Linked DNA regions of Homo sapiens: region 2 is linked to region 1. Evidence: promoter capture Hi-C in human tissues and cell types (Jung and others, 2019). All regions are on one chromosome and are shown on one strand. Each heading gives the region's core, a stretch centred on a gene start or on the middle of the fragment in contact. The rest is flanking DNA. Distances are from core to core; before and after follow the strand shown.

Region 1 (4,395 bases), core at 1,299-3,798:
TTGTGGCTGGTAAGAACAACCAATGCTTATTTTTATATTCCAAACCGGATTCTTGCCTTCGATAAAGCGGGTAGACCATGCACATTTCCTGAAATCAGAGAATTGTCTATTTTGTATGAAGCCAATCCTTTTGCTTTGGTAAGAGGAACAAATAGATGTTACACCCTCGTAAGGGGAATGTGAAGGTAACCAAAGTTCACAAACAGTACGAAGAAGGGGCAACACAAGAACATTAGAAATGGAGAGTGGCCAAGAGCTGGCTTCAACTCTCTCCGATGAATAAAGCAAAGCAAAACAAAATCCCCCAAAACGGCAACTCCCAAATTAACGGTGGGGAGAAAGAGAAAATATGCTCATGAATTTGTTCACGTAAACTTCAATTTTCTTGCAGTGCAAATTTATGTGGTTAAATTTTGCCTATATGAAAGAACATGTGTATTTTTTCCTCTTTCCTGATGGGAATCCACAATAAATAAACACAGCAGCATGTGCCAACTCTAAGCATCAGGAAGCTGCATTTTGTGTTTATCATGGTTTGGTGGATTTTTTTTCCTTTTTGGTAATTTATTTAGTTTTGCCAGGTATTTATCTCAGTGCTTGCCATCTCTCTGTCTCTCTCTCTTTCTAGCTATCACACACTCTCCTCACTCTCTCCAGGAGACACTCCACTCCATTGCCTGGTTACTCGCCTGCAAAGGTCAAAACACATCATTACACCTGCTACCTTTAAAGGATAGTCCAGTGTCTTAGTTGCTTTCCTTTTGCCTTATTTTTTTTGTCTTTTTAAGGGACGGGGAAATAATAATTAAAAATAAAAGAACAATCAGAAGTTAGAGAGGGAACAAGAGGGCCGGGAAAGGGCCAAGGACCGAAGGGGAGGGGGAGCCCCGCGCTCTGCCCCTCCCCCAGCTCGAGTTCACTGGACGGGCGTCTGCACCCCGTGGTGTGGTGGAGTGTCCCTACTCCCCCCGTACACATCCTCGGCGCCCGGCAGAGTCCCTCCGGGAGGGGTCATCCTTTTCTCTTTCTGTCTCCTGTTACAAAACCAAACTCTCACCACCTCCTTCTCCAGCTGTAAGCTGTCCGCGAGGGAGGTGATCTCCTGGGCCGAGGGCTTGGGGCATTTGAGGAAATGGCTCTCCAGAGCCCCCTTGACGCTCACCTCGATGGAGGTCCGCTTTTTCCGCTTGCGCCCTTGCGCTGCGATCTTGTCTATGCTCGTGGGGCTGCCCGAGGACGAGTCCGCCTCCTCCAACCACTTGTTCAACAAAGGCTTCAGCTTGCACATGTTCTTGAAGCTCAGCTGCAGGGCCTCAAACCTGCAGATGGTGGTCTGCGAGAACACGTTGCCATACAGGGTGCCCAGAGCCAGCCCCACGTCCGCTTGGGTAAATCCCAGTTTGATCCGCCGCTGCTTGAACTGCTTGGCGAACTGCTCCAGGTCGTCCGAGGTCGGCGTGTCCTCGTCCGAGTGCGGGTCGTGGTGCGCGCCTGGGTGGCCAGGCGGACCCTGCGGGGGCGGCGGGGGCGGCGGCTGCTGGTGTGGGTGCGAGTGCGGGTGCGGGTGGTGGTCGGCATGGTGTGGCTCGTCGTGCGCGTCCCGCAGGCCGTGGTGGTGCAGACCGGCCGGCTGCCCGCCGGCGCCCAGCATGCCGTTCACCGTGAAGCTGGGCTGCGAGTAGAGCAAGCCGCCGTTGGACGCTCCCATGGAGGGTGGGAGGTGCGCTGCAGCCGCCGCGCTCCGCCATGCCCCGGGTCCCGGGTGGTGGTTAGCGGCGTGGTGCACCAGATGCGGCGGCCGCTGTTGCTGCTGCTGCTGCTGCTGTTGCTGCTGTTGCTGCTGCTGTTGCTGTTGCTGCTGCTGATGCTGCTGCTGCAGGGCGCCTGGCCCGTGCAGCTCGTCTCCGCGGCCGCCCTGCTGCACCACCACCGAGGGCTTGATGTCCGGCTGGCCCAGGGGGCTGGTGGACCACGGGGAGCCGTCGCCGCCGCCCCCGCCGCCGCCCCCGCCCCCCCCGCCGCCGCCACCGCCCCCGCCGCCGCCGCCGTGGGACAGCGCGGTGATCCACTGGTGAGCGTGGCTGAGCGGGTGTCCGTTGCTCTGCAGAGCGCCGTAGTCGCCCTGCACCAGGCTCTGCGCTTCGCGGTAGCCCCCCGCGCCCTGCTGCATGCCGCCGGGCGGCTCGGCGTGCACGATGGAGGCGCTGGAGGTGAGCAGGCTGTAGTGGTTAGACGCTGCGGTCGCCATGACTCTCGGAGCCGGACTGAGCGCTCCGGTTAAAGGAGCCGCGCATTTGACAGTTACTTTTTCGCCTCGGGCTCCCTCTCCTCGCTCGCTCTTTCTGTCTCCTCTCTCTCCCACAGCGGGCAGCTCCGACGCCCGCTCCGACGCCTTCTGTTGCTGCTCCTGCTATTACTGCTGCTGCTGCCGCCGCCGCCGCCTCCCGCCCGCCCTCGCTCTCTTTCTCCTCCTCTCCCTCCTTCTCGCTCTCGCTCACTCTCTGACTAGCTCGGCGCTCCCCCCTCTCCCTGCTCTCTCCAGCTCTCTCCCGCTCTCTTGGCAGCGCCGGCTCGCAGCGGCACGCGCCTGGGCCCCGCCCCCTCCGCCCCCTCCCATTGGCTCCGCGCCCTTTGATTTACGTGGATACCGCTAGCAACCTCCCAGGCCGGCGCCACTGATTGGCGCAGAGCTACTCCCTCCCCCTCCCCCGGGCTCGGAGTCCTCCTAGCCCTCCTCCCCGTCCCCTTCGCCTCCCGATTCAGATTCTCTCAGTTCTCACCCCCCCGCTTCTTCCTCACCCGGGGCCTCCTCCGCCCTCTCTCGGATGGGCCCCGCCCCCCATCTGTCTCCCAGGCAGAGAAGACCGGCAGGGGGGCGGTCCCGGTGCTCTTATCGGCCACAGACACTTGGAAGACTTGGATTGGGGTGGGGGGCGGGAGGCAGTGGTGTCCACTTTCGTTTCCCAATAGGGCTTTAAGATGGGGAAACGGAGGGGGTAAGGGAAAAGCTGGGTCGCACCGAGCCAGCGGGAGTCGGATTTTTATTCACCTAGGGACACACACACAGTGTGTATCTCTTAAACCTAGAGCCAAGAGCCAGACCTGTTCCCCTGTTCAACTCTCCTTGCATCCCACGGTTAGAATTTCAGTGCACAAGTGTCTCTTGCTCCAGGGTGTGCGGACACTTCGGCCCAAAGCTCTTCTCCTTCCCCTCTACCCCGCGGCTAGCACAGGCTCTCTTCCTTTTAGGTTCCAGGCCCAATTGTCTCCCACTCCCTTGGGGAAAGAACCCCGAGAGAGGCAGGCTCAGCCCGCACCGCGGCTTGTAAGTCATTCCCATCAAGGCTCGGAGTTGCTTGCTCTGACAGCGTAGCGGTCTGAACTGAAAACCAAACAAAACTCTAAAAGTCTCTCCGTCAGATTCACACGCCGGCGCGTGCAGTTTTTGGTTTAGAAAACTAGAAGCCTGCGTGGGCTCCGTCTTGTGCGAGGCTGCCGGAGTGCTGGCGAGGGGTGTGCGGCCTTGTAGGGGCGGCGCAGTCGCCAAAGGCCGCTCCGGGAAGCCGCGCGGAGGGCCTGCGTGCGCGATTCCCCGTGCTCCTACCGCTGGTAGGTGCAACTTTTCCGTTAGCCCCTTGGGAAGGAGGAAGAGTGTGTGAAGCAAATGGGCTGATGCCAGGGGAACCTTCCTAATCAGTAACTTCGGTGGGCGCTAGCGGGTGGGGTTAGTCTATGTCTTTGGCGCTCCCTGGCCAAGCTCCCAGCTCAGCTTTCAGCAGTGAACTCCAGAGCAAGACTATGGGACCATGCACCCGCAGCGCCGCTCTACGGAGCGCGGGCGCGTCGCGCCATCAGTTCTTTAGCCGCCCAGAGCAGGTGCCGCCTGCGAGTTTCCGAGCCTGCAAGCCCGGTAGCTAGAACTTGGGCGCGGACCCAGGCTGGAGCGGCGTGACCGCCACGCAGGGCCGGGTGTGTACATGGGCGCTGTAAAGCGAATCAACAGTTACTGCCGGGAAGGGAATGACAGACCCCAGGGAACCTGGATCGCGTCCCCACCTCTCACCCCTCGCTCTATCGCTGGTTTTGCCGGCGGTCGTAGGCTTGAGAGGGCAGCCAAATCAACGCTCAGAGGGAGCATTTTGGGGCCTCTGAGCATCTGAATCCAGACAGCAGACTGGAGCGGGCCAGAAAATTCATCATGACTAACAAGGAGTCATGCTCTTTGGAGAGTGGCTGAGCTGTTTATAAATCACCACGTTGAGCACCCGCCCGGGCAAGACGCTTTGGCTGAGAATTTCCACGTGTCCTGTGTTTATGAGCGTGTGTGGGGGAGAGAAATGGATAGGGGAGGGGCGAGCCCACAGGCCGCCAGCAGGACGGACCTGCACCCCCACC
Region 2 (4,433 bases), core at 1,047-3,546, 720 kb after region 1:
GTGCCAATTCTAGTACATACAGTTGCTCTGAATAAAGTTGAAGAAACACACACACACACACACACAGACACACAGAGTGTTTCTGAACTCACTTTACATTTATGAGCACAAACTTCAATTTTTTTTAGTGCTCGATTGTTCTGTACTTCCGTTCACTCTCTCAATTATCTAGAATAATGTATGATTCATATTTCCTCCTCTCCAGGTCTCTAGTATCTCCTCCCTCATGTTCACTCTCAGGCATGTCCTTGCTCTGTATTTCACTGAGAAAATAGAAATCAATCGAAGGGAATTTCCATAAGTTTTTTCCATTTTTTTCACACTTCTAGAAACCTACCTTTGTAACCTTACATTTTGCCTTTTTTTTTTTCTATTACTGTGGAGGAATTGTTCTTACTCCTACATAGGCCAAATCCTCCATTCACCTGCTGGATTACATCGCATATGGCCTAATCAAGTACACCGCTCAAGCAAATCTTTCCTTTCTTGCATACCATAATTTTCTTCTCTCTACGTTTTCCCTTCCCATTTCCGCCTAATTCTCTCCTTCCTTTTATATCAAAACTTCCTTGAAGACATCTAATCTCACTTTCTCCTCCCACTTTCATTTGACTCCACTCCAAACAGGCTTTTTGCCACTCTCCACTACACCTAAACTAAGTTATCAGTGAACTCTATTTTGCCAAGCCCAGTGGTCAACTCTTGTTATCCATTATATTTCTGCTATAAGTAATATTTTACATTTTTCACATCCATTACCACTTTAAATCAAACTATCATTATCTCCCTCCTAGATTATTACTAAAGCCTCTCAACTGCTCCAGCTCTCACGTTGCCCCCCTCCAAACTATACCTAGCTGAAGCCAGAGGAATTCTGCAAAAATGTAAAGTGCACCAATGCACTTTTATGCTCATAGTTCTCCATCCTACTCAGGGTAAAAGACAAAGACTTCCTAACGTAAGAAGTTATAACTAACCTGGTCACCTGTCACCTCTGAGTTTATCATCTATTCCTCTCTTTTTCACAAGCCGGGTCATTCTGCTAAAATCATATTTGCCTCTCCGTTGTCCTTTAAATAAACTAGGCATGCTCCCAACTCACATCCTTTGATGTTGTTCTTTCCACTGCCTCTTATAATCTCAACTTTAATATTCATAGGATTTGTTTCCCTTTTCCTTCAGGTCTTAACTAACCCACTACCTTCCCAGAGCATTCTTCTCTAGGTATGCTGTCTAAAATTGTGTACACACACACACACACACACACACACACACACGTCATACTTCCTATAACACTACCCTAGTTATTATCTACTGCACTTATCACTATCTGACATATTGCAAATTGTATTGTTTTCTTTAATGTATAATTTACGTTTTCCATCTTATATTTTACTTTCTACCTATTAATTTTTCTCATTTAGAATGTGAGCTCCTGAGGGCAAGTTTTTCTTCTTCAGTTCTGTTTACAGCTGTATCCCCAGGACCTAAAACAAGTCTATAACAAACAGGTGCCCGAAATGTATTTGCTGAATAAATTAAATGAATGAATTTTGACTTCATTTCAGTTGAAAGCATTACTCTATTTATCTAATTATAATAGTGAAATAATTTGTCCAAAAGTAATGCATAATATTCTAGTGAGAATGATTAGAAACAATGTAAGGGATCCTTATTTCTTTCTTTCTACCTTATATTACACCTCAAGTTTTTGGTCAATTTAATCTTTAGCTCTACAAAGTTTTCATTTTTATATTATCAAACAAGCCTATCAATTCTTTTCTGGCAACTGGATTCCTATTCTTGGTTAAGAAGGCACCTCGCAGATTCCAGGTTGCAAATATAATCTCCAAAGTATTTGTACAGATCCTTTCAAAAACACCTGAAATTTTTGTATATGTTGTATTACAGCAGTCCAACTTATTGATTAATTACTCCTATTTGTAATGCTATTTATTTAGACTTTCACCTATAGGTAGAAATACATATATTAGCCTAGACTTACATAGGGTCAGTATCATTGAGATACCACTAGGCTATATAATTTTTTCAGCTTCAGTATAATATTATAGGACCACCATCATATATGTAGTCCATCACTGACTAAAATATCACCATGCGATTCATGATTATATATATACAAGCATATCTCCTTTCATTGCACTTCACTTTAATGCACTTTGTTAGATACTGCATTTTTTACAAATTGAAGATTTGCAGTAACCCTGCATTGCGAAGTCCATTGGTGACATTTTTTCCAAGAGCATGTGCTCACTTTGCATCTCTGCATCACATTTTGGCAATTCCTGCAATATTTAAAACATTTTTATTTCTGTTATGGTAACCTATGATTGGTAATCTCTGATGTTACTATTGTCATTGTTTGGAGCACCACAAACTGCACCCATTTAAGTTGGCCAACTTAATCTATAAATGCTGTAAAAATTCTATGTGTTCTGACTGGTCTATTGACCAGCCATTCACTGCCTCTTTCCATCTTCTTGGACCTCTCTATTCCCTGAGACACAACAATATGGAAATGAGGCCAACACTTATAGCGTGTAAGTGTTCAAGTGAAAGGAAGAGTCACTCTAAATCAAAAGCTAGAAATGGGTAAGCTTAGTGAGGAAGGCATGTCAAAAGTCGAAACAGGGTGAAAGCTAGGCTGCTTTCATCAAACAGTTAGCCAACTTGTGAATGCAGAGTAAAAGTTATTGAAAGAAATTAAATGTGCTACTCCAGTGAACACAAGAATGAGAAGAAAGCAACACAGACTTATTGCTGATATGGAGAAGGTTTGAGTGATTGTCTTGATAGAAAACCAAACCAGCCAAAATATTCCTTTAAGACAAAGCCTAATCCAGAGCAAGCCCCCAACTCTTCAATTCTATGAAGGCAGATCGACGTGAGGAATCTGTAGAAGAAATGTTTGAAGCTAGTAGAGGATTGTTGATGAGATTTAAGGAAAGAAGCTATCTCCATAACATAAAAGTGCAAGGTGAAGCAGCAAGTGCTGATATAGAAGCTGCAGCAAATTATCCAGAAGAGTTATCTAAGATCATTGATAAAGGTGACTACACTAAACAACAGATTTTCAATGTAGATGAAACTGCCTTACATGTTGGAAGAGGATGTCATTTGGTTCTTTCATAGCTAGAAAGGAGAAGTCAACACCTGCCTTCAAAGCTTCAAAGAGCAGGCTGACTCTCTTGTTAGGGGCTAATGCAGCTGGTGACTAAGTTGAAGCGAATGCTCATTTACCATTCCAAAAATCCCAGGGCCCTTAGGAATTAGGCTAAATCTACTCTGCTCGTGCCTTATATATGGAAACAACGAAGCCTGTATGACAGCACATTTGTTGAAAGCAAGGTTTACAGAATATTTTAAGCTCACTGATGTTGAGACCTACCGCTCAAAAAAAAGATTTCATTCAAGCTATACTGTTCGTTAACAATGCACCTAATCACCCAAGAGCTCAGATGAAGATGTACGAGGAGATTAACTTTGTTTTCATGGCTGCTAACATAACAACCATTCAGCAGTCCATGAATCAAGGACTAATTTTTACTTCCAAGACTTAGTATTTAAGAAATACATTTTGTAGGGCTACAGCTGCCATAGAAAGTAATTCTTTCGATAGACCTGGGAAAAGTAAACTGAAACATTCTGGAAATAATACACCATTCTGGACATCATTAAGAACATTTGTGATTTATGGGAGGATGTCAAAATATCAATATTAACAGGAGTTTATAAGAAACTGATTCTAACCTTCATAAATGACTTTGAGGGGTTCAAGATTCAGTGGAGGAAGTAGTGGTAGATAGAACAAGAGAATTAGAATTGGAAGTGGGCCCAAAGATAAGGCTGAATTGCTATAATCTCATGATAAAACTCATAAGAAACTGCTTCTTATGGATGAGCAAAGAAACTGGTTTCTGAAGATGGAATCTGCTCCTGGTGAAGATGCTGTGAGCAGTGTTAATAAGACAACAAGGGATCTAGAATATTACACCATTTTAGTTGATAAAGGAGTGGCAGAGTTTGAGTTCCAGTTTTGAAAGTTCTACTTTGGGTAAAATGCTCTCAAGTAGCATTGCATATTACAGAGAAACTTTTTGTAAAAGGAAGAGTCAATTTATGGCAAACTTTGTTTTATTTTAAGAAATTGCCATACCCCACCCAACTTTCAGCAACCCTGATCAGTCAGCAGCCATCAATATCAAGGCAAGACCATCTACCAGCAATGAGATTACAACTTGCTGTAGGCTCAGATAATTGCTAGCATTTGTTAGCCATAAAGTTTTTTTTTTCTAAATGAAGTTAGGTACATTTTTTAGACATGATGCTATCATTACTCACTTAAAAGACAATAGTATAAAGTGAACATAACTTTTATATGCACTGGGAAACCAAAAACAATTGTGTAAGTT

What was found. Contacts are between HindIII fragments. The study calls those that stand out against the background at their distance.
Region 2: a contact is called between a fragment that was not itself captured here and the fragment with the promoter of POU3F2 in region 1, in 2 of the 25 tissues and cell types used here (mesendoderm cells and neural progenitor cells).

What each region holds. Positions count from the first base shown.
Region 1 is chr6:98,832,727-98,837,121 of GRCh38, reverse strand. POU3F2 (POU class 3 homeobox 2) reads right to left here and starts at 2,548. Exons shown (of 1, transcript NM_005604.4): 1 at 1-2,548. The coding sequence starts at 2,248. The coding sequence ends at 917. RefSeq lists enhancers at 639-1,234, 1,235-1,831, 1,830-1,899 and a silencer at 2,538-2,607. The HindIII fragment of the contact is 21,173 bases long and covers 1-4,395 here.
Region 2 is chr6:98,107,950-98,112,382 of GRCh38, reverse strand. No RefSeq gene overlaps it. Among named protein-coding and RNA genes, the nearest start is that of MIR2113, 86 kb to the right of the region's middle. The HindIII fragment of the contact is 5,005 bases long and covers 1-4,433 here.